4 separate regions of the Homo sapiens genome follow, and all the other regions are linked to region 1. Evidence: promoter capture Hi-C in human tissues and cell types (Jung and others, 2019). All regions are on one chromosome and are shown on one strand. Each heading gives the region's core, a stretch centred on a gene start or on the middle of the fragment in contact. The rest is flanking DNA. Distances are from core to core; before and after follow the strand shown.

Evidence for each region. Contacts are between HindIII fragments. The study calls those that stand out against the background at their distance.
Region 2: the fragment with the promoter of KRTAP29-1 here is called in contact with a fragment that was not itself captured in region 1 in 2 of the 25 tissues and cell types used here (IMR-90 fibroblasts and lymphoblastoid cells).
Region 3: a contact is called between the fragment with the promoter of KRTAP4-11 here and a fragment that was not itself captured in region 1, in 5 of the 25 tissues and cell types used here (IMR-90 fibroblasts, aorta, mesenchymal stem cells and 2 more).
Region 4: the fragment with the promoter of KRTAP4-6 here is called in contact with a fragment that was not itself captured in region 1 in 2 of the 25 tissues and cell types used here (IMR-90 fibroblasts and bladder).

Annotation. Positions count from the first base shown.
Region 1 is chr17:41,213,335-41,219,689 of GRCh38, forward strand. It overlaps the pseudogene KRTAP9-12P. Among named protein-coding and RNA genes, the nearest start is that of KRTAP9-2, 10 kb to the right of the region's middle. The HindIII fragment of the contact is 7,634 bases long and covers 1-6,303 here.
Region 2 is chr17:41,298,664-41,305,007 of GRCh38, forward strand. It overlaps KRTAP29-1 (keratin associated like protein 29-1), which reads right to left and starts at 4,188. Exons shown (of 1, transcript NM_001257309.1): 1 at 3,163-4,188. The coding sequence starts at 4,188. The coding sequence ends at 3,163. The HindIII fragment of the contact is 8,416 bases long and covers 1,669-6,344 here.
Region 3 is chr17:41,115,102-41,121,476 of GRCh38, forward strand. KRTAP4-11 (keratin associated protein 4-11) reads right to left here and starts at 3,272. Exons shown (of 1, transcript NM_033059.4): 1 at 2,080-3,272. The coding sequence starts at 3,214. The coding sequence ends at 2,627. The HindIII fragment of the contact is 2,482 bases long and covers 853-3,334 here.
Region 4 is chr17:41,138,590-41,144,884 of GRCh38, forward strand. KRTAP4-6 (keratin associated protein 4-6) reads right to left here and starts at 1,955. Exons shown (of 1, transcript NM_030976.2): 1 at 844-1,955. The coding sequence starts at 1,898. The coding sequence ends at 1,281. RefSeq lists an enhancer at 1,087-1,599 and a silencer at 5,691-5,793. The HindIII fragment of the contact is 4,215 bases long and covers 1-3,304 here.

The sequences.
Region 1 (6,355 bases), core at 1,237-3,736:
ATTTATTCTTTTTTTTTTTTTTTTTTTTTTTGAGACCCAGTTTCGCTCTTGTTGCCCAGGCTGGAGTGCAATGGCATGATCTTAGCTCACCGCAACCTCCACCTCCTGGGTTCCAGCCATTCCCCTGCCTCAGCCTCCCGAGTAGCTGAGATTACAGGCATACGCCATCATGCCCAGCTAATTTTGTATTTTTCGTAGAGATGGGGTTTCTCCATGTTGGTCAGGCTGGTCTCAAACACCTGACCTCAGATGATCCACCCGCCTTGACCTCCCAAAGTGCTGGGATTACAGGCATGAGCCACCACGCCCAGGCCAGATATCCATTTCTATGGCAAACTCACTCCACTTCCTCTGCTGATAACATACATACTGTCACTAAACTGTCAGTCATCTTCTTGTTAACAAATTATGAACTTGCTTAATGAGTGTAGCCTTTTTCACTCCGATAGTCTCTTCATTGAGCCAGCTGCTGGTCAGCTTCATCTGTTCTTGACCTGGATTTATGATCTGAGCGTTGACAAAATTATCTTTGTTTTTTTACTCTAGGAAAATTTCTAAAAAGAAAAAAAATTCTCATAGCTGTCTTATTAATTTTTTTTTTCTTTTTTTTTAAACAGAGTTTCACTCTTGTTGCCCAGGCTAAAGTGCAATGGCGCGATCTCAGCTCACTGACACCTCTGTGCTCCCAGGTTCAAGTGATTCTCCTGCCTCAGCCTCCCAAGTAGCTGGGATTACAGGTTCCTGCCACCACATCTGACTAATTTTTTGTATTTTTAGTAGAGACGGGGTTTCACCATGTTGGCCAGGCTGGTCTCAAACTCCTGACCTCAGGAGATCTGCCCACCTCGGCCTCCCAAAGTGTTGGGATTACAGCCATGAGCCACCACACCCGGCCCTTATTAGATCTTTACAATGATAAATATCATTTTGTTTCAAATTAATACTCACTTTTGTGACTTTCCATGACAACTCTGTATTATCTTCTTAGCAGAAAGGAGCATTGCTTTATTTATTTCCTAATAAAGCGTTTACTATAGTGCCTCCTGTGTTGTGTTTTGTTTTGTTTCAGTGATTGTTTTGCATCTCACATATATTATCTCATCTAAGTCACATAGAAGCCTCAAACTTGGACAGAACCAAGATGAGTAAAGTGGCCTGCATCGTGTCATGTAGCTAAGGATGGACAGAATTGGCTCTAGGCTCAGGGTTTCTGATTTCACCTCTACTGATGTCACATTTACAGAATTATACTAAGGACTTAGAACCGGGAAGGGGTGCACTCGAAGTTGTTCTCTGACAATGGAAACACCAATTCCACGCATTTGCAGACCATTTTCTACTAACAAAGTTCTTTCCAAATTCATTCCCCTAACCAATAGCCACATCTTAAGAGCAACAACTCGTTTTAAGAGCCCTCGTGAATCATGTGAACATTTTATATTCTCAGTCTCTTGTCAGGCACTGGTGAAGTTCTTTAAATATTTTTGAGCACCCATTGTGTTCCTGCCTCTGTCCTGGGACTTTGGTGTGAGAGGCTCATCTAGAAATACTTGTTTGTTGAAATAATGGAATTGGCATTCTGTTTGTCCTCATTCTTCTGGTCACCTAAATAAATGGTAATAGAAGATTAAGTCATGGCCCAAAAAACTTAGGCCACATTTCATTTGCACCCAAACTTTGAGAGATAATTTGTTTTCACATCAAAACTTTTTATTCCTGGCTTACTGTTTTTTTATTGTGGTAAAATACACATAAAATTTACAATTATAATCTTTATTTATTTATTTATTTTTGAGATGGAATTTTGCTCTGTCACCCAGGCTGGAGTGCAGTGGCACGTTCTCAGCTCACTGCAACCTCCGCCTTCCAGGTTCGAGCGATCCTCCTGCCTCAGCCTCCCGAGTAGCTGGGACTACAGGCATGTGCCACCATGCCTGGTTAATTTTTTGTAGTTTTAGTAGAGATGGGGTTTCACTATGTTGGCCAGATTGGTCTCAAATACCTTACCTCGTGATCCACCTGCCTCAGCCTCTCAAAGTGTTGGGATTACAGGTGTGAGCCACCGTGCCCAACCACAATTATAATCATTTTTACATATACAGTTCAGTGGAAGTAAGTACACTCATGTTGTTAGACAACCATCATCTGTCTCCAGAAATTTTAAAAAATTTTTTAAATTATTTATTTTTTATTTTATCAACTTTTATTTTAAGTTCTGGGATACGTGTGCAGGATGTGCAGGTTTGTTACATAGGTAAATGTGCCATGGTGGTTTGCTACACAGATCAACCCATCACCCAAGTATTAAGCCCAGAACCCATTAACTGTTCTTCCTGATGCCCTCCCTCTCATTGCCTGCAACAGGCCCCAGTATGTGTTGTTCTCCCACCCCAACGTTTGTCCATGTGTTCCCATCATTCAGCTCCCACTTATAAATGAAAACATGTCATTTTGGTTTTCTGTTCCTGTGTTAGTTTGCTGAGAATAACAGCTTCTAGCTCCATCCATGTCCCTACAAAGGACATGATCCAGTTCCTTTTTATGGCTGCATAGTATTCCATTGTGTACATGTATCATATTTTCTTTATCCAGTCTACTCTTGATGGGCATTTGGGTTGGTTCCATGTCTTTGCTATTGTGAGTAGTGCTGCAGTGAACATATGCATGCATGTATCTTTATGATAGAATGATTTCTATTCCTTTGGGTATATATCCAGTAAAGGGATTGCTGAATCAAATGGTATTTCTGGGGATGGTGCTATCTGGTCCAGCTACTATGCTTTTCTATGGTCTTCACAACTCACAGACCAGGAGATTCCCTCGGGTGCCTACACCACCACGGCCCTGGGCTTCAAGCACAAAACTGGGTGGCTGTTTGGGCAAACACCAAGCTAGCTGTAGGAGTTTTGTGTTTTTGTTTTGCTTTGTTGTTGTTGTTGTTGTTTTCATATCCTAGTGGTGCCTGGAATGCCAGCGGCACAAAACTGTTCACTACCCTGGAAAGGGGCTGAAGCCAGGGAGCCGAGTGGTCTTGTTCAGCAGATCCCACCCCCAAGGCACCCAACAAGCTAAAATTCACTGGCTTGAAATTCTCGCTGGCAGCACAGCAGTCTGAAGTCGACCTGGGACACTCGAGCTTGGTGCGGGGAGGGGCGCCCACCACTGCCAAAGCTTGAGTAGGCAGTTTTCCCCTCACAGTGTAAACAAAGTTGCCGGGAATTTCGAACTGGGTGCGGAACCACCTCAGCACAGCAAAGCCACTGTGGCCAGACTGCCGCTCTATATTCCTCCTGTCTCGGGAGGTCATCTCTGAAAGAAAGGCAGCAGCCCCATTCAGGGGCTTACAGATAAAACTCCCATCTCCCTGGGACAGAGCACCTGTGGGGTGGGGCAGCTGTGGGCACAGCTTCAGCAGCAGACTCAAACGTTCCTGCCTGCGGGCTCTGAAGAGATCGACTGTTCTCCCAGCACAGCGCTCAAGCTCTGCTAAGGGACAGACTGCCTCCTCAGGTGGGTCTCTGACCCACATGCCTCCTGACTCCTCCCAGCAGGGGTCAACAGACACCTCATAGCGGAGAGCTCCGGCTGGCATCTGGCAGGTGCCCCCTGGGACAAAGCTTCCAGAGGAAGGAGCAGGCAGCAATACCCAGGCAAACAGGGTCTGGAGTGGACCTTCAGCAAACTCCAGCAGACCTGCAGAAGAGGGGCCTGACTGTTAGAAGGAAAACTAACAAACAGAAAGCAACAGCATCAATATCAACAAAAAGGATGCCCACGCAAAAACCCAATCCAAAGGTTACCAATATCAAAGACCAAAGGTGGATAAATCCAAGAAGATGAGGAAAAACCAGCACAAGAAAAGGCTGAAAATTCCAAAAACCAGAATGCCTCTTCTCTTCCAAAGGATTACAACTCCTCACCAGCAAGGGAACAAATCTGGACAGAGAATAAGTTTGATGAATTGACAGAAGTAGGTTTCAGAAGGTGGGTAATAACAAACTCCTCTGAGCTAAAGGTGCATGTTCTAACCCAATTCAAGGAAGCCAAGAACCTTTATAAAATGTTACAGGAACTGCTAACTAGAATAATCAGTTTAGAAAAGAACATAAATGACCTGATGTAGCTGAAAAACACAGCACGAGAATTTTGTGAAGCATATACAAGTATCAATGACCAAATGGATCAAGCAGAAGAAAGGATATCCGAGATTCAAGATCAACTTAATGAAATAAAGCGTGAAGACAAGATTAGAGAAAAAAGAATAAAAAGGAATGAACAAAGCCTCCAAGAAATATGGGACTATGTGAAAAGACCAAACCTATGTTTGATTGGTGTACCTGAAAGTGATGGGGAGAATGGAACCGAGTTAGAAAACACACTTCAGGATATTATCCAGGAGAACTTCCCCAACCTAGCAAGACAGGCCAACATTCAAATTTAGGAAATACAGAGAACACCACAAAGATACTCCTCCAGAAGAGCAACCCCAAGACACATAATTGTCAGATTCACCAAGGTTGAAATGAAGGAAAAAATGTTAAGGGCAGCCAAAGAGAAAGGTCGGGTTACCCACAAAGGGAAGCCAGGAAGCCCATCAGACTAATAGTGGATCTCTCTGCAGATACCCTAGAAGCCAGAAGAGAGTGGGGGCCAATATTCAACATTCTTAAATAAAAGAACTTTCAACCCAGAATCTCATATCCAGCCAAACTAAGCTTCATAAGTAAAGGAGAAATAAAATCCTTTACAGACAAGCAAATGGTGAAGGATATTGTCACCACCAGTCCTGCCTTACAAGAGCTCCTGAAGGAAGCACTAAATATGGAAAGAAAAAACTGGTACCAGCCACTGCAAAAACATACCAAATTTTAAAGTCCATCGACACTATGAAGAAACTGCATCAACTAATGGGCAAAATAACCAGCTGGCATCATAAAGACAGGATCAAATTCACATATAACAATGTTAACCTTAAAAGTAAATGGGCTAAATGCCCCAATTAAAAGACGCACACTGGCAAATTGGATAAAGAATTAAGACCTATCGGTGTACTGTATTCATCAGACCTGTCTCACATGCGAAAATTGAGACCTATCGGTATACTGTATTCATCAGACCCGTCTCACATGCGAAGACACACATAGGCCCAAAATAAAGTGATGGAGGAATATTTACCAAGCAAATGGAAAGCAACAAAAAAAAAGCAGGTGTTGCAATCCTGGCCTCTGATAAAACAGACTTTAAACCAACAAATATCAAAAAAGACAAAGGGCATTACATAATGGTAAAGGAATCAATGCAACAAGAAGAGAAACCTAACCTAAGCATATATGCACCCAATACAGGAGCACCCGGATTTATAAAGCAAGTTCTTAGAGCCCTACAAAAAGACTTAGACTCCCACACAATAATAATGGGAGACTGGCCGGGCATGGTGACTCACACCTGTAATCCCAGCGTTTTGGGAGGCCAAGGTGGGTGGATCATGAGGTCAAGAGTTCAAGACCAGCCTGGCGAGCATGGTGAAACCCCGTCTCTACTAAAAAATACAAAAATGAGCTGAGCATGGTGGCACGCACCTGTAATCCCAGCTACTGGAGAGTCTGAGGCAGGAGAATCGCTTGAACCCAGGAGGCAGAGGTTGCAGTGAGCCAAGATCATGCCACTGCACTCCAGCCTGGGTGACAGAGCAAGACTCCATCTTAAAAAAAAAAATAGTGAGAGACTTTAACACCCCACTGTCAGTATTCGACAGATCAACAAGACAGAAAATTAACAAAGATATTCAGGACTTGAACTCAGCTCTGGGCCAAGCAGACCTAGTAGATATCTACAGAACTCTCCACCCCAAATCAACAGAATATACATTTTTCTCAGCACCACATAGCACTTACTCTAAAATTGACCACATAATTAAAAATAAAACATTCCTCAGCAAATGCAAAAGAATGGAAATCATAACAAACAGTCTCTGAGATCACAGTGCGATGAAATTAGAACTCAGGATTAAGAAACTCACTCAAGGCTGAGTATGGTGGCTCACATCAGTAATCCCAGCACTTTGGGAGGCCGAGGCGGGCAGATCATGAGGTCAGGAGATGGAGACCATCCTGGATAACATGGTGAAACCCCGTCTCTACTAAAAATACAAAAAAAAATTAACCAGGCATTGTGGCACGTGCCTATAATCCCAGCTACTCAGGAGGCTGAGGCAGGAGTGAGCCCAGGAAGTGGAGGTTGCAGTGAACCGAGATCACACCACCGCACTACAGCCTGGGCGACAGAGCAAGACTCCATCTCAAAAAAAAAAAAGTGGGAGACTTTAACACCCCACTGTCAATATCAGACAGAACAA
Region 2 (6,344 bases), core at 2,938-5,437, 87 kb after region 1:
CATGTGTGATCCGATTCCTCCAGTACAACAAGGCAGGAAACCCTGGGATACAGAAAGCCCTCTGTCCTTGCCATAAGGCAGGGGGTCTAATTGAGCTAACTAACACAACCCATCTATGGACGGAGGCTAAACTGAAAGAGTACCCTGTACACACACCCACTGGGGCTTCAGCTGTAAACACTCACCCCTAGACGCTGCCGTGGGGTCAGAGCCCCAAAGCCTGCCCATCTGCATGCTTCCCCTAGAAGTGTGAGCAGTGGGGCACGGAAGAAGCGAGCCACGCCCCCGTTGCACGCCCTGCGAGGGGAACAAGGAAACTCTTCCCGTCTCACCATGAGCCAAACAGAGCCCCAGCCTGTTTTTACAAAGTTTTATTAGAACCCAGCCACACTCATTTGCTTACATATTGTCTATAAATGTAATGATATAATGCAATGATACAACGGCAAAATTCAGTAGTTGCAACAGAGACCATGTGCCCCACAAAGCCTAAATTATGTATATCTGTCCCTTTACAGGATAAGTTTGCTGGGCTCTGATATAGCACTCTATTTTTTGCAAATCTAATACCTGTAAAGTAATATGTAATTGTTATTTTAATTTTGAAATCTCTGAGAAATAATACTTTTGAGAATTCTTTCACAGGCTTACTTAAGGATTCATCTTCCGTGAAGTTCCATTCATGTCTCAAGAGAGGTTTTGCACAGGGTGTCCACCCAAAGATCGTTTCTGGGAGACATTCCATCCATGGCACTTCCTTTGTGATATCAAGTTCCCTCTCTCCCCCTCCTCCTTTTTGTTTCTAATTTTCTTTTTGGACCTCAAAATTAGTCAATCACATTTCTTATTTTATGGCATACTAAAAAGATATCCTTCCAAATCTCTTCCCCATCAGTTCCAGAAGTACAAGAGGCTTCAGTTTTAATCAGTTTGAGAATATTTAGAACCTCACAGAACACATCAACAAACTCACAAGATCATGTAAATAAATGAGCCCTCAGAGGTAGAATAAACTAACTTCTTCGTGTTATAGATTAGCACCCTGGTGTTACATAAGGTCATACAGTAAATAAGTGGCCAGGATGCAACTCAAGCCTTCTCCTTTGAGCCGTGGTCTAGTGCTTTTTCCTCACCACCACCATAGAAGTCCTCCTCTGAGTTGCATTTCCAAGCAGGTCATAAGGCAAATGCCCATACTCTTGTCCTTCAGTGACCTTGATGTCTCATTATTCCCGGGCTCTTTTGGTTAGTTTTCCTTCATCTGTAAGGTTTTTTTTAGAATGTCCCACACATATTGGCAAGACCTATTTAACTACTGAGAACCTCAAATCACAGTGATTGAGAGGACTGGAACGAGAGATGCTCAGCCAGTGACCATCAGGTAAGTTTATGAGCAGATCCTAAGGTCCCTCCTCGGGTTGGGGAGAAGGCCCGATCTGGGAGAAAGTCAGGGCACTGGTCATAAAGACATAAGGACAGAAGTCCAACCATTTAAACTGGGACAGGAGTCATCCAAAGGGCAGGGGGGAACAAGAGGGTGATATCAGCTGGGCCAGTTAGATGGGGAAGGCTAAAATGCTAAAATCAGTCTTTTAGTGCACTTTACTCAGGTTTGGCTAGGCATGTTTTATAGGCAATTGTAAATCATGGAGCAAATAAATCAACCTTAAGTGCAGCCATACAACTAAGTTGAAATGTGGTGTGTGTCTGTGTGTGAGTGTGTGTGTGCATGTATGTGTGTGCATCTGTATCTGAGTGTGTGTGTGTGTACCTGTATGCATCTATATGTGTGTGCATGTGTGTGGGTAGAAAAGGTACTGAAGGCAATACCCATACATAGTTAGAAATAAAAGGAAAATACCCATTAGAAGACTAGAACAGATCTAGCTACTTGAACTGTTGAAATGATAAGCCCACCTATATCTAGGGATTCAAGAAGCATTCAATGCTTCTTGAATTCAATTCAAGAAGAGATTCAGTGCTGACATTAGTCAATTCAACTGCAGGTAGAAATTCTCCACCTGGACCCTTCCATGTTCAGGTGCTAGATTTTGTTCTTATGGCCATCCCCCTCTTTTTTGACCCAGAACCTTCTTTCAAGACTACGACCCTTGTGATTCTAAAACTGGGGATAAAACAATTAATAGTCTCTCTACAGATCCAAAGTATACCTCAGTGACAGAAAAATGTGAACTATGAAGATTTGTTTGCTAGTTACCAAATTATTGCTGCTCACCTACAGGTACACCCTTCATTGCCTGCTCTATGATAATACAAAGGGATCCTATGAATATTTCTCCTTAGCCAGCTGACACAATGTCCCAGGCAGGAGAATCGCTTGAACCCAGGAGGCAGAGGTTGCGGTGGGCCGAGATCACGCTCTTGCACTCCAGCCTGGGCAACAAGAGTGAAACTCTGTGTCAAAAAAAAAAAAAAAAAAAAAAGAATCTTAAATGAATTAACCCTAAGCTATTCTCTATGGCCAATACCTCATGTTTGTTTTCATCTGTGGCTTTCCAGAACCATTTTTGTTGTTGGCTTCCTGTCTACTCACTATAGGGAAAATGAGCCCACTCAGCTCAAAAGAACTCTTGGTGGTGAAAATTTTGGAAGCCAGTGAACTGTTTGCCCTTACTCTCGTCCAGCTGGAGAATCTATAATCCTAGACACTAGCTACCCTTGCAGACCAATGCAGACCCACTGACTTAGATGACTCAGGCTCATTGTGTTCAAATGTGACCTGAAGGAAATCTACATAGAGGTGTGTGTAGGAATGAAAGCACTCCAGGAGTCTTATTTATTATACTTAACCAGTCACATTTTTATTAGCAGCTGGCAGCAACGAGGTCTTCTGAAAGACCAGGCAGCATCAAGAAAGAGAAACAAGAGAGGGTTTGCTAAAGTGAAATGAATTGACATCATCAGGAAATGCAAGCAGCAGTGTGGTAGTCCATGGTTGCTGAAAGGTTATTCTCGGTTAAGAAGGATCTCTTCGTGCCTGGACAAGTTCCCTGGTCAGCACCTGGAGAGAATGTGAAGGTGGAATCAGGGTAAAGTTAGAAAGCAGGCAGCATTTGTACTCGGTGGGAGGCAGGCACCCAGGGATGGCTATGCATTTATAGACAGCCGCAGACCCTCAGAGGAGGTGTGAAGAGGGCTCCATTAACAAAGTGTTGCCTTGCAGAAGCTGGACTCACAGCTGGGTTGGCATGAAGTCGGCAAGCAATTGGAGCCACTACTGGGTGATGTGCCTAAACCAGTCACACAGCAAGCTGATTTGCAGCCACTCTGGTTATAGGAAGGGGGTCCATCACAAGTTGGTTGGCCAGAAATCACAGTGTCACAAGAAGCTGGTTTGCAACAGTTCTTTGTGGAACAAGGGGCCTGGCAGTTAGCCACTGGCTGGTAGATGAAGCATGTGGAAGGAACCAGTTGGCAGTGAGGTGGCTGGCAATGGGAAGGCACACAGCAAGTAGTATTGCAAGAACTGAACACACAAGTCGATGGCTGGCAGGGAACAGGCATGTAGAGGGCTGATTGGCAAGGCTTGAAAATATAGCAGATGGGTTGATAATAAGTTGATTTACAGGGCTGGCCTTCACCACTGACGGGTTGACATGAACTTCCTTGGCACCAAGTTGGTTGGCATGGACTAGCTGTACAGATGGTTGGTAGGCAAGAAGTTTCCGGACAGGAGGTCACTTCAGAGCAGGATGGCTGGCAGGATCCAGCATCACAGCAGACTGATTGGCCACAAGCTGCCTGACATGATCCAGACATGCAGACAGATTCCTGGCAGGAGCTTTGCTGGCAGGGACTGGCATCGCAGCACTTTTCCTGACAACAAGTAGATTCCGAGCAGGATGGCTGACATGAGCTAACCAGACAAGGAGACTGACCAGTGCCAGACTGATAGCAGGCTGCGTGGGAGCACATAGGTTGGCAAACAAAACCCACACAAGACGTTGCTGGAAGGCGGGTAGGTTGACACGAAGCAGGATCACAGCCACTTGGGGCACCAATGGATGGCTGACAGCTTTCTTGGCATGTGACCAGTTGCCACATTCTGCTGTGGCAGGAACTAGGCAAACAGAGAGCATGTCGAAATCCACCTTTAACTGGGTATGTGGTGATGGTGGGCACAGCTGGAATGGCTGTGGTGTTTCCAGGACAACAGCCGTCTGCCATGGTGCTGGTGCTGACCTTGCTGGGAAGTTGCAAGCTCAGTATACCTGCATTGGAAAGACATCCGATACAGAGGGGCTTTTATAGTCCTTCACTAGGGGTGTTGGCACGCCATGCAGCATCTTTCCTTGTTATTGTTTTTACTCATTTGCATGCAAACATCTGATTAGCAGGCTTCAGGAGCCTGGGAGATGTTTCAACTTTGAAAAGGTGTCTGTTGAGTCGGGAGTTTTCTGCGCTGCATTTGGATTCGTTGACACTGCTCCTGCTCTTGGATGAGCTGTCTCTTTTACAGGTTGCTCTCCAGCCTCACTGAAGCAGGCCTTTCCTGGCACTAACCTTTCATCAGGAGGCCTCTGCCAAGCCAGAGTGGCCCTGCTGTTCCTCCAGGAATGCAGCTTTGCACCATTCAATCAGAAATGAAGCCTTGACCCAGTTTGGGGAGAGGATGTCAAGACGGGAAATGGAAAATTAGTCCAAGGAACCCAGGGACACTTAAGTGCCTCTACCTCTTTTTAAAACCTTCCCATTTATCATTCCTGAAACTTGTTTACTAGTACTATTACTAATAATAACAATAGAAATGGCTTTCATTTATTGCATAGTTACTAGATCAAGTCCTTGGCTGCATTTTTCACTGGATCCTCACAATGACTTCAGTAAGTATAATTGTCATCACTATGTTAGAAGTGGCAAAACTAAAAAAAAGTAATAAATAAAGAAGAAACCAGGTTTAAAACAAAGTTAAGATTAAAATATAAAACTTCATTGGCCCTTTTAGGAAGCTTAAAATCTCCCCCAAATTGGTTCCTCTCAAGATTTTTTTAGAACAGAAAAGAAGAAAACAGAAGTGGCAAAACTCATAGAGTTTAAATCATGTTCCCAAAATTATGCAAATGAAAAGGGGTAGAAACAAAATTCAAACCTAGCTTTGTCTGACCACCAAACCCCTGATCTTAACCACCTATTAGACCCCCTGACTTTGGGGAGGCAGGGAGAAGGCGACACTGATATAGTGGCTGCAGGCTGACACCCCTATGGCAACAGACTGGCTCGTGAGCAGGTTGCCCAGGCCCCATCCTGGGGATCCTCCGCCCACTCCAGTGACTGTAATCAGCAGCTAGACCACACTGGTGTGAGTACTTACCTCTACTTATCAATACACTCAAACACAGTCTTTTAATTTTGGAAATTTTTTAAACTACCAAATATTTCATCAGGAAGTATCAAACCCACCCTAGGGCATCAATAGCATATGAATTCTATACAAATAAAAACACGCCAGCAGTGATAATAAAAAAAATCACTGTAAAGTGGTGTTAATGTTAAACCAATCCCTTCCAAGAGGAATTCGTGAGGGACTTTCTTGGCCCTTCTGCTTTTCCTCCGGGCTTGTCCTGGCTCCGCATCACCAACCAGGTCCGGTGTTCTACACCAGCCAACGTTCTGGCCGGTTCACGCTGGAGGCACATGACGGAGTGGAAAGATCACGGTGTGGGGAGCCAGATGGGGCTGGCCTTGATTTCTGGCTCTGCCACTAACTCATTCTGTTGAATATGTTAGCTAATTACCTAAGTCTTCAAAGTATGGCGATTTCATCAACTGCGTTGTCATGTCTCAGGTTAGTTTTTTGTGGGTGTTTGTTTGCTTTGGTTGCTTCACAAATTATTGAAAATACTGAAAACGCTGAAGGGTACTTTGCAAACCCCCAGCTACAAAATGCCTTCTCCTTGGCACCCTCTTCACCTCCATTTTAAAAAGAAGAGAAACATTTTTGATCAGAACAATGTCTGGAAAACCTTCTCCCCTGCCATTGAAATGCCTTTTTCCCCACAGTTGGTTTCTATGTCACACCATGGATCACTTCTTTTGCCCTCCTTCTTGTCTGTATTCATGTTGGCATCTTTCAATCTGCAGGAATCCATGCACTGTGTTTTATTGCTGAATATTTACCCCCAAAGCTCTTCATCTTCCCAGAGGATGTATTTAATACTTTCAGTCTTACCAAATATGTCAATCAAACTGGGAACATGAGCATGTTTGAAAAATCACATCAACTTCAGTCCAATATCCTATACCACTTTTATAGTTTTAAAGCAATCCATTCTACATCCATTTTTCTCTAAGTGATTCTGCTCTTGTTTTCTTTTCTCCTAAAG
Region 3 (6,375 bases), core at 2,022-4,521, 97 kb before region 1:
TTATTTTCTACAGTTTCCACTGAATTCTAATTTTTCTTGGCTACAGGTCTTCAAAAGATTGTTTTCAGTTTTTTTTTCTTCTTCTTTCCCCCATTTTTCCTAATTTGGAGTCACTGAAAACTCATCTGTGCTTTTGTAAAGCCCTGCGAACTGGAGCTAGAGAATTTAAACTTCAGAAGAAAATACCAGCAACCTGTTTACATACATAAGCCACTTTCATACCTGCCTACTGATGTATGGACTTCAGAGTAATGTGGCCCATATTGATTTTCCAGGATTGTTCTTTTGTTTATTTTTGTTTTTCTCCCTTCCTCCCCCTATTTTCTCTTCATAGGACATGAAACTTCACAACCTGCTAAAAATGAACTTTCCTAATAACTCAGGAATTATCTTTCTAGGAATAAACAATCCTAGCCATGAGATATCAGATGAAACTTGAGACCAAAGACTGACTTTCTTCAAAAAGGCTTTCTCAAAAAGATTTTTAAGAAAAGGGGGGAAATTTGAAAGGAAAATAAACCTTGGGGCCCTGAAATCACTAAGGTAAAGGGGAAAGTCAAGCTGGGAACTGCTTAGGGCAAACCTGCCTCCCATTCTATTCACAGTCACCCCTCTGCTCACTGAGTTAAATGCATATCTGATTGCCTCCTTTGGAAAGGCTAATCAGAAACTCTAAAGAAAGCAACCATTTGTCTCTTATCTACCTATGACCTGGAAGCCCCTCCCCGCTTAGACTTGTCCCGCCTTTTCCGGACGGAACCACTGTTCATCTTACATATGTTGATTGATGTCTCATGTCTCCCTAAAATGTATAAAACCAAGCTGTGCTCTGACCACTTTGGGCACATGTCTTCAGAACCTCCTGAGGCTGTGTCACAGGTGTACATCCCCAACCTTGGCAAAATAAACTTTCTAAATAAACTGAGACCTGTCTCCGATTTTGGGGGTTCACAAGGCCATACTGACTTGTCCCCTGTGTGAAGCCCAGCAGGATCCTTTCACAGCAAGCTCTTTTCACTTGAACCTTTGTGCATCAGTGCCTAACTCTTTCACAAGATAAGGGGTCCTACAGAATCGAAGCAGACCCACCAGAGGGTTACAAGTTCCTGATACCTAGTACAACCTGGGAAAGAGAGCAAAAGCCCTTTATTCCTGATGCAGCTTCCCCAATCTCTAGCCAATTTGCACCAAAAGCCCAAGAAACTCCTAACTACAAATTCCTTCCTGGGGTGGGGTGTTTGGGAGGGTGGGCAGGGACTTCTCTGGGGTCCTGCATGCACAGCTAGGATCAAGGTTCAGCTTATAGTAACCATTTCCTCATTTTAATAGTAAAAACAACCACAACAAGAAAAACACCCCAAGGCGGAGATTTCATATGCTAATGATACATGCGATGGGTGTTAGACCACGTGGATCCTGAGCACATGTGCCAACCGCAGGTCTGCCTTTGCATACTTGACCTCACCAGTATTTTATGATTATGTACGTATAGCTCCCATAAAAGGAATTCCTCTTACAGCACTAGCTGCTGTCTCTCCCACTGAGCACCCCACTCTGCCTCTCAAAGAGTACTTTTGCTTTGCAACAAATTTCTTCGCTTACTCTTACTTTGGATTTGCTCTCAAATTCTTTTGCACAGCAAATTCAAGAACCTGAACTGGTCCACCGACAACAAAATAACAAAATTCCCTTATATAACATTTGGAGTCTGCCTTAACTGATTTGAATCAAGATGGAATGCAGTAGGATGAGATGTGCCTTTTAAATTTGACACAGAAGAGTGAGGAGTATTACCATGATATCATAAGTTCTAAAATCATGGATGAACTTACAAACAACAATACTGGGGCTTTACCTATCCCAAAGCATTCCATATATCAAATTGAAACAATCAAAAGCTTCTATTTTATTTTAGTTTATGCGTGACATTGGAGCAGTTTGGCACTATGAGTTCATCCCTGAAGTCTTACTTTGGAATCATGCTTTGAGAATCCCCTTCTACTGCATTCCCACCTCACCCCCATGAATCAGTAAACTCAGTGAAAATTATCACAAAAAAATGCAAAAAACAATAAAAGATTTCTAAATGAAAAGTTTAATACAATATATTTTGTGAACACAATAAAGATAAAGAACCAATAAAATAGAAAAATTCTGGCAAACTTGAACAAACAGAGACAAAGAGAGAACAGGGAGAAAGCAGGAGAGCATGGGAGGGGCAGCCTCCTACCTTTCCAAGAGAAAAGAATGACTGAAAGGCTGACAGACAAATAATATGTTTGAAATGGAGATAATGTGTACCTCACTGGGAAGGATATTCTGTAGGCTCAAAACGATTTAAAAAATGAGGAATTTAGAGGATTGGAATAATTTCTTAGCTAGTGGATTACAAATTATTTCATATTTGGTGCCATGACTGGAAGAGAAAGAAAGCAAGGGAGGGAGTTTAAAATGAACCAGAATGTTCTCACAGAGTCAGTGGGATGGTGATGGGCTCATTGGAAACATGAAGTCCACCCTGCTGAATGACATCAATCCCACTCCATGTGTCCTAATAGTCAGCACAGAAGAATGGTCTACAACTGTGGGCCTGCAGTGAAGGGAGAGATGAGCCAGGGCAGTGGGCTCAGCAGCAAGAGGAGGCACAGCACAAGGGGCGGGGGCAGCTGGAGATGACACAGGTTGGGCGATAGCAAGTGGTGTGGCAGGAGACTCGGCCACAGACTGGACGCAGGCAGCAGCAGGGGCGGCAGCAGCTGGATTCACAGCAAGAGGGGCGGCAGCAGCTGGAGATGCTGCAGCTGGGGTGGCAGCAGGTGGGCTGGCAGCACACAGACTGGCAGCACTGGGGTCTGCAGCAGCTGGACACACAGCAGCTGGGGCGACAGCAGCTGGAGATGCAGCATCTGGGGCGGCAGCAAGTGGGCTGGCAGCACATAGACTGGCAGCACTGGGGCTTGCAGCAGCTGGACACACAGCAGCTGGGGCGACAGCAGCTGGAGATGCAGCATCTGGGGCGGCAGCAGGTGGGCTGGCAGCACACAGACTGGCAGCACTGGGGCCTGCAGCAGCTGGACACACAGCAGCTGGGGCGACAGTAGGTGGTCCTGCAGCAGGTGGTCTCACAGCAGCTGGGGCGGCAGCAGGTCTCCTGGCAGAGGTCTCGGCCACAGCCTTGGTGAGAGCACACGGAGCCACAACAGGAGTTTACCATGGTGTCAGAGGGTGAAGGATCTAGTTGGGTTTCTAGGAGAGTGAAGTTCTTGTGTTTGGAAGTCTCCTGGGCCTGTAGTCCCTTTATACCCTCCTGAAGGCCCATTGCCACCACATCATTATTTCCTTGTTATTATTTACCTACTGGAAAAATTAATCATGTAATTACATCATTGTGTTTCCAGTTAAATACTCCAAAACAGAGAAAATAACCCATTTCCTTTTCCTGCTGTGCTCCTGTGTTTCCATTGGAAATGCATGTCATATTTCTTCATTAGTGGGGAGTCACCTTTGTCCCTGGTCTATGCAGTGTCTTTTACAAAGCACTGGTCACAGGACTCTCTGACATTTTGTTTTTAAATGTGACTCTCCCTCCTACCTGCAGATTGCTGTCTGCAAATCATGGGGGATGATTTTTATAATGTGAATGTATCTTTTGTTGTCAAAGAATGTCCTGGTCAGGTGAAATGTTGGGAAGGAATTAGAAGGAAGCACTCATTTGGGGAAGGATGTCCCATCTGTAATGAGGATGACTCTGATCCCATGTGTGCATCTCGGATGGTCGGGCAGATGGTCAGATCCCAAGAAGTTCTAAACTCTGTCAGATCTTATTCCACAGCCTCCAGCGAAAGTACTTACCCATGACTCACTGCCTTTAAAGGGTAAAAACACATTTTGCTGTATGTCTTACAGTATATGCATTATGAGTAGGAAGTTTTGATTTATCTTTTTTTTTTTTTTTGACAGATTCTCAATCTGTCGCCAGGCTGGAGTACAGTGGCATGATCTCTGCTCACTGCAACCTCCACCTCCTGGGTTCAAACGATTCTTTTGCCTCAGCCTCCCGAGTAAGGTGGTTTGCGCCATCACACCCAGCTTACTTTTGTATTTTTAGTAGAGACAGGGTTTCACCATGTTGGCCAAGATGGTCTCGATCTCTTGACCCCGTGATCCACCTGCCTTGGCTTCCCAAAGTGTTGGGATTGCAGGCATGAGCCCCCAACACCCAGCCTGATTAATCTTTGATCATCAAAATTGCATGATGGATTTTTCATTTACAAAAGCATTTGTTATATATAAAGAATATTTAGAATTATTAAGCCTTCAATAACATGCATCCAAGATGTTCTATTGGGTACTCTGGGTGTAGAACAGATAAACCCTCAACTTTTTCTTGCAGGTACTTGCATAAGACACATGGATAGGAAACAGTTTGGCAGAAATGAAAAGAATTACAATTATTTTCATTAAACAACTAAAATAAGAAATGTATAATATGTGGATAAGTTCCATACACCCTCATGGTATGTATATTACTTGTGAAGTATTGACTATGTAGCAGGCATTGTACCAAATATCTTACATTTGTTTCATTTTCACGCTTTAATAGAACCTTATGAACTAGTTTATATTCTTATTAGTCTTTTAGGGGAATACTCAAAAGAAGCATTAAAAACTTAAAACAAACAAACAAACAACTTGTCCAAGGTTAAAGAGAAAGTAAGCCTAATATGTCTTAGTGTAGCCAAGAAAGCCGTAAAGAATACAATTTGCTAAGCTTGCTGAAACTGCTTCATCTTCTTGGAATGTTTCATCTTTTTTTGTCCACTCTGCAAACTCCTACTCATGTGTCAAGACCCAGTTAAAATATTTCCTCCTCAATAATATCTTTCCTGCTAAGCTACCCCATTCATGTATCATGATTTCCTGCCTTGTGCTCATAATTTATACATTCTCCTGTATCATAGTCATTTACTTCTGTCTTTCCACCACGTGCAATGCAAATACCCTGAAGGCTTGCGCTATGGCATTTATTCTCGTTACCATGATACTCAGCACAGAGAACACTGGTGGTAAATGTTTGTTGAGTGAATGAAGGTTTTTTTGATGACATAGAGGCATGTAAGGTCCTTTAAAAAATGTATATATCTTTTGACTTCTGGATAAAAGGGAGGAAAACATCCCAAACAAAGAAATCATAATTTCATTTCAGGAAGACTAAACTCATTTGTGTGATAGGTAACATGTCACCCGATAAATAACATACGTGGAAACTGCGGAAGTCAAGATTCAATTTATAGAATGAGACTTGTTTATAGATAACCAAGAATACAGTGTTGAACGTGCATGCCTATATTCACACAGTAAAAAGACAGGAAGGAAGTAAACGCCAGATGGTAGCACTGGTTCTCCTTCACCTCCTGACTTCCTCGTTTTACTCTTGTTGATTGAAATAACTATTATTTCCTGTTTCGTATCAGTCAGCCAAAAATGTTTGCTGATAATCTGTTGTCTTAGCTTAAATTCTACCCAATGCAAACCTTGAGAAAAAGACCTGAGTGCACATAATTTATTTGGGGGATGATCCCAGGAAGCACAAGTGAGGAAACGGTGAAAGTAAGACAGGAAAGGTAGAAAATCCCAACAGTGTTTGTGTTAATGGTAAGGCCCCCACTGTGGGCAGCTGGGGACGAACCCCAGGGACAAGCCTGAGGCTGGAGGCACTTGGCCACCATGATTGCACACCTGTAAAATCCTGTAGAGTCAGCTGGGTATTAGTGTGAATCGCGAGATCAGATAAAATATGAACTTATACTAATCCATAGACTTTTTATACACTAGCAATAATTCTCTCTAAAATTTAATGGAGAAAAATCACACACTGGGGCCTGTCGTGGGGTGGGGGGAGGGAGGAGGGATAGCATTAGGAGAAATACCTAATGTAAATGACGAGTTAATGGGTGCAGCACACCAACATGGCACATGTATACATATGTAACAAACCTGCACGTTGTGCACATGTACCCTAGAACTTAAAGTATAATAAAAAAAAAAAGAAGCATGTACTCACAGTTCTCAAGAGTAAATAGAAAAATATGTAAATAAATCTGCCAAGCCTTTGTGAAGGAAAATGTTAACATTTCCGGAAGGACATAAAATAATGTTTGAATAAATGTCAGAACAAGAGATGTGCAACGAAAGCCAAGTTTTCAAATAAATACATACATGTTTTATGCATGCATTTAATGAGGATGTATCTCAATTTGCAACATTAGGTATTGAATGGGATTGGCAAAGATCATGATGGGAAACTTACTTTTGTTCACATTGTCACATTCTTTTGTATTGTCTAAATGTTTAAAGAGCATATATTTGTGTATA
Region 4 (6,295 bases), core at 705-3,204, 75 kb before region 1:
ACCTTTAACTCCTAGAATATGTATTTAGTACAGAACTTTCTAAATGTTTCTCCTGCTTTTACTAGCTTGAATTGACATAAAATTTATTTTCACCATTTTCCCCCTAGGATGGAGTTTATAGGCCATATTCTGGGTTTAACTAAGAACCAAACTATTCCGTTAGTTGGTTTCTTCTAAGTCCCCATATTTCTCTATGAAAATTCATTTTTGTAGAATTTATTGACCAAGACCATGTGCCCCAAGACCATGCTATTAAATACACACCACAGAAAAGTCATTAAGGTAGGAAAAATACTAAAATTTGAGTATTTTACATTTTCTGCAATTCCCCAACTTCTCAGAAGATTGATTTTCCCTAAAGGTAATTATTTTGTTGTTAATGGATGGAGATGAAATTAAAGCAGCTGAGAGTGTGATAAATTGAATTACACGAGAGATGGATAAACCTTAAAGAGTAGCCTCTGGTTTTACAAGAATGGGATAAAAGAGATAAGGGCAGAACAAGATGACAGGATCGGGGGCCATGGGTGGAGGAGGGAAACGGAAAAATAAAGCAAATAAGAGAGGAGTGAGATTGTAGGGAAAGATACACTTTCAAAAATATTTAAGAAAATTTAGCTGTGGGATATAACCCTTCTCCATATTCATAAAAAAACTTAACTTAAAATCTTTATTTTTTTCAATACTTTTGGAAACATCCATGTATTGCCTTTTTTTTAGGTCATTACATGTTGCAATTTTCTTGAAGGTGAGAGCAAGAATAGGATTCGTTCAGTTGTGTTTTGGGTGGAATTTCTCAGGAACTAAGGACAATCATTACAAAGCAACACAAAAAGAACATTGTATTTCTATGCGACAAAAGTGGAGTTTTATTCAGAAGCAGCAAAAATAAGATACAGAAACATTGCTGTAAAAGGAAATACAGGGTGAAACAATCAGACTTTCAAATCTGAGAGTGAGACAACCTTGCCCCGAGTTACCCTGCAAGAATTTCCATGTTTGGGACAGAAGAACTTGGTATCCATAAATACAAATATAAGGTATAAAATTTGGTAAATTCTATTAATTTCTTTCTGTAAATAATATCTAATTTCACACTTGGGTCAACATGGGGAACATATATTCTAGATGTATAGCCAGGACATATATCCTAGATATATGTCCAGGATATGGAAACACAGTTGGTGGGAATGGCCTCTTCTGAGTTGTTTATGAGATGCACAAGGTCTGCTTCTGTGAGGAGTGAGCTGAAGGGGAGGAGATAGTTTCAGGCAAGGAGCTCAGCAGCAAGAGGAGGCACAGCACAAGGGACGGGGGCAGGTGGAAATGACACAGGTTGGGCGATAGCAAGTGGTGTGGCAGGAGACTCGGCCACAGACTGGACGCAGGCAGCAGCAGGGGCGGCAGCAGCACGGGCGGCAGCAGCTGGATTCACAGCAAGAGGGGCGGCAGCAGCTGGAGATGCAGCAGCTGGGACGGCAGCAGGTTGGCTGGCAGCACACAGACTGGCAGCACTGGGACCTGCAGCACCTGGACACACAGCAGCTGGGGCGACAGCAGCTGGAGATGCTGCAGCTGGGACGGCAGCAAGTGGGCTGGCAGCACACAGACTGGCAGCACTGGGGTCTGCAGCAGCTGGATACACAGCAGCTAGGGCGGCAGCAGGTGGTCCTGCAGCAGGTGGTCTGACAGCAGCTGGGACAGCAGCTGGGACGGCAGCAGGTGGGCTGGCAGCACACAGACTGGCAGCACTGGGGTCTGCAGCAGCTGGACACACAGCAGCTGGGGCGGCAGCAGGTGGTCCTGCAGCAGGTGGTCTGACAGCAGCTGGGGCGGCAGCAGGTCTCCAGGCCACAGCCCTGGTCAGAGCAGACGGAACCACAACAGGAGCTGACCATGGTGTCAGAGGGTAAAGGTTCTGGGTGGGTTTCCAAGAGAGTGAGTTTCGTGAGTTTGGGAGTCTCCTTGCTGCATGTCCCCTTTTATACCCAGCTGAGGAGCCTTTGTGATTATGAGAAGATTGTTTCCTTGTTTTTGTTTATATGACACAAATGCAATTACTAAATTATATTGTGTTTTTCTAGTAAAAAATCCCAATATATAGAAAATGATTATTTCCCTTTTCTCACCCTGGTGTTCCCACATGAGTCACCTCTTGTTTTCCTTTCCTTGGTTTCAGTGTCACATGACTTCAGTCTCTGGGTATCATGTGACATGGGAGGGCCACTGTCACTTGTCTGTTTCTCATCATGATATCGTTTTGGGAGAGCTTCTGATTGGGCTAAGATCTCTAGTGGAGAAATGCATGTGTCAATCAGCTGGAATGCTGACAGGAAAAAAAGAAAATATGCTCCTGTTTTTGAGTGTGAGAAATAAGGAAGCTTATGATTCATTGTATGTATTCTGGGTGGCCATTGAGCTAACTAAATTCCTAGGTCATTGCAAGCTGTGTTAATTCTCATCACTCTGGTGCACCTTGAAACAGTTAGTAGTGACTCACTGTTTCTAAGGAACAAAGCATCATCTGGGCTTGAGCTGCGTCTGTCTTCAAAAGTGTCCTACAGGCTGAAGTAGAGTAATGTGGATCATAGTTTTTGATCTGCCTTTTGAAATATCAAATGTGTAATGGTTATGCTTTATTGACATTTTGTTAAAATCTTTTTCATACATTTTGAGCTAAAACATCTAGCAGGGTTTTTTTTTAGTATCACTTATTTCTAAGATTTTTTAAGAAGCATTGAGAGGAATATAAAAGATATATTCTTTAACTTACAGGTACTTATGTAACTGTGGACCTCAATTTTAAAAATCACCCACTTTCTCTTCCTTTCCTCCCCTCTCACCTCTTCATTCCTTCCCTCTGCACACTCCCTTCTGGCAATACTATCTAATATCTTATCTAATTATATTCTTGCTTAAGAAATTCCAGAGGCTAATCTTGAAACAAACCAGGCACAGAGCCCTGAGGAATCCTCTCACTTAGGGGGAATCTTGAACAATTAATCCACCACCATTGGGCTGAAGTCAAAATAATGCCTCCCAAACCTCTGGACACCCAAGATAGCCATTGGAACAAGACATGCAGACTCAGCACCCTGCACCACCCCTGCATGTCTCCCATGCCAAGTTTCCCTTTCAAAACCCTATGGCAAATTTTAAAATTTAAGATGGCACTTTAGAATGCTAGTTCACTAGCTAAAGGATGTCAGTGAGATATATCTTGGGGTGAAATGTTTTTATTTCCTTCACTTAGCATTCTTCTAGTTATTCATTACCAGTTAGTTCAAATGCCATTTTTCTCCAATATCTTTCTTGGCCTCACACAAAGCAAGGTTATCCTCTGGTTTACTGGCTCTCCAACTAGAACTAACTTTCCTTTCACCAGCCCTTGCCTCTTATGTGTTGGCTTTCCAGCAGCAAGCAGCTGAACCTGGGTCCAGTTACATTTACACAGAAATTGCATTCATAACAAGTTTTTATTTTATTTATTTATGTATTTATTTTTTGAGATGGAGTTTCACTCTTATTGCCCAGGCTGGAGTGCAGTGGCACCATCTCAGCTCACTGCAACCTCTGCTTTCCAGGTTCAAGTAATTCTTCCGCCTCAGCCTCCCAAGTAGCTGGGATTACAGCCATGTGTCACCACGCCCGTCTAATTTTGTATTTTTAGTAGAGATGGGGTTTCACCATGTTGTCCAGGCTGATTTCAAACTCCTGACCTCAGGTGATCCACCCACCTTGGCCTCCCAAAGTGCTGGGATTATAGGAGAGAGCCACTGTGCCCGGCCCATAAAGAGTTTTTAAATAAAATCCTCACATGATCATGGTTCTAAATAAAGGGTCTTCTTTAGTGCCGTGGACATTCAGGGAAAAGCAATTATTCAAGGAAAGAACAAATTACCTTCACAATATTTTCTCTTCCTGGGAATGAAGGGATGTCTCTTGTGAACTTATGTGGGGCCTGAGGAACCTGGAGATCTCTGCCCTAGTGGAGTTTGTATTCTAGAAGGAGCTGATAGACACATGAATTTCCAATGGAGAATGAGATGATAGAGCCCATGTGTAAATAAGGCACCACAGAAGTGCAATGGAGGAAGGATTTTCCTCACTGAAAAATCACTGACTTGAGGCGGATTGATTAGTAGGAGAAAAGGCATACACATTTATCTAACAAGTATACCCAAGAGCCTTCAGAATGAAAACTCAACCCCTCAATAAGGTACAGAAGCTTATACAACATCTTGAGGTCCCAGAAAGAATGAGGGCTCAGAGCATGGCCAAAAACAGGAAACAGGTTTTAGTGGCAAGGCAGGTGTATTGGTCCATTCTCATGCTACTATGAAGAAATACCCAAGACTGGGTAATTTACAAAGGAAAGAGGTTTAATTGACTCACAGTTCACCATGGCTGGGGAAGCCTCAGGAAACTTACAATCATGGCAGAAGGGGAGGCAAACACATCCTTCTTCACATCGTGGGAGCAAGGAGAAGTGCAGAGGAGAAGGAAGATAAGCCCCTTATAAAACCCTTAAATCTCATGAGAACTCACTATCACATGAAGGTAACCGACCCCATGATTAAATTGCCTCCCCCTGTGTCCTTCCCATGACACGTGGGGATTATGAGAACTACAATTCAAGATGAGATTTGGGTGGGGACACAAAGCCTAACCATATCAACAGGTTATGGGAGGGAGAAAGAAAGAGGCTTGGCCAGCAAAGGGGGTCTTGTTATGTGGATGAAATCTCACAGGTAGCAACTCTCAGAGAAAAGAGATGGTAAATGATTTTTTTCAGAACTCTAAGGGTGTCAGACAGTCAGTTATTCTCTTCTAGATCCAGGAAAGGCCTATAATGAGAAGGCCTGACTGCATTAATGGAGATTCTCTACAGATGCAAATTTCCTTCACAAAAGACAGCTTTGCAGGGCCACTTTAGTCTGCTGGTCATGTGGCAGCCATCTTAAAATATGTCAAAAAATATATTTTGGGGTAAAATATTTTTTATTTTCTTAATTTAGCATTCTTCTATTTGTTTTTTACTGTCCAAATGCCATTTTTCTCCAATATCTTTCTTGTTCTCACACAAAGCAAGGTCCTTCCTCCACTGCACATCTGTTGTGCCTTATATATGCACAGCCTCTACCATCTGATTCTCTCTCAGAAATTCATTTGTCTATTGGCACCTTCTAAAATACAAACTCCATTAGGGCATAGACTATGATCTATTCATCTTTATATAACAGAACCTGAAACATATGTTTAATGGATGAAGATTTTGTCAAGGCTTTCAAGGGTCACACTGACCTTTGAGAATACAAACCATTCAAATAGGTGGAGAGAAAGGGGATATAAAAGGAGCACATAATTGAGATTGGGCATGACCCTGGCTTGTGATGGTGAAAGTGATATGCTGAAAGGTCTGTTTTGAGAAGTAATGAGAGAAGTTGGGATTGATAGCATGAGGGAGAAATTGTGGGTACCCTCAAATCCTGGAAGAAATGGTAGGGAGCTATGAAAAGCCTTCAGGAAGGAATGTTAGGTGATATTGTAACCGCCCAGTGGGTTCATTTTTCTTGCTGTTATAATTTTGGCAAAAGTGCTTTCAAAATATATGCTATGCACAATGTATTTTAATTTTTGATCTGCCTTTAGAAATGACAAAACACTCCTGGATTTCTGGGAAGAGATGCCATTAAAAAATTGAAGTGAGGCTGGACGTGGTGGCTCACACCTGTAATCCCAGCACTTTGGGAGGCCGAGGCAGGTGGATCACAAGGTCAGGAGATCAAGACCATCCTGGGTAACATGGTGAAATCCTGTCTCTATTAAAAATACAAAAAAATTAGCTGGGCATGGTGGTGAGCGCCTGTAGTCCCAGCTACTTGGGAGGTTGAAGCAGAAAAATGGCATGAACCTGGGAGGCGGAGCTTGTGGTGAGCAGAGATCATGCCACTGCACCCCAGCCTGGGCAACAGAGTGAGACTCCATCTCAAAAACAAGAGAAAAGAAAAGAAAAGAAAAAAGTTGAAGTAAGACAGTAAAATTTGAACTCTCAGCATCAGGTGATGGCCGTGAGCATAACAAAGATAAATTATTCTCTTTATTATGAAATAATAAATTTATTTATGAAATAACTAAATTCTTTCTTTGAAATAATCAGTAGAGACTTGGAACAAATTGAAAATAGAGGTATAAGAAGGGTTCTTCCTAAAAGTTATAAAAGATATTTCAATTGAACTAATTGTTTACATATTCTATAATTTTCTATATATGTAATTTATACCCCCTACCTACT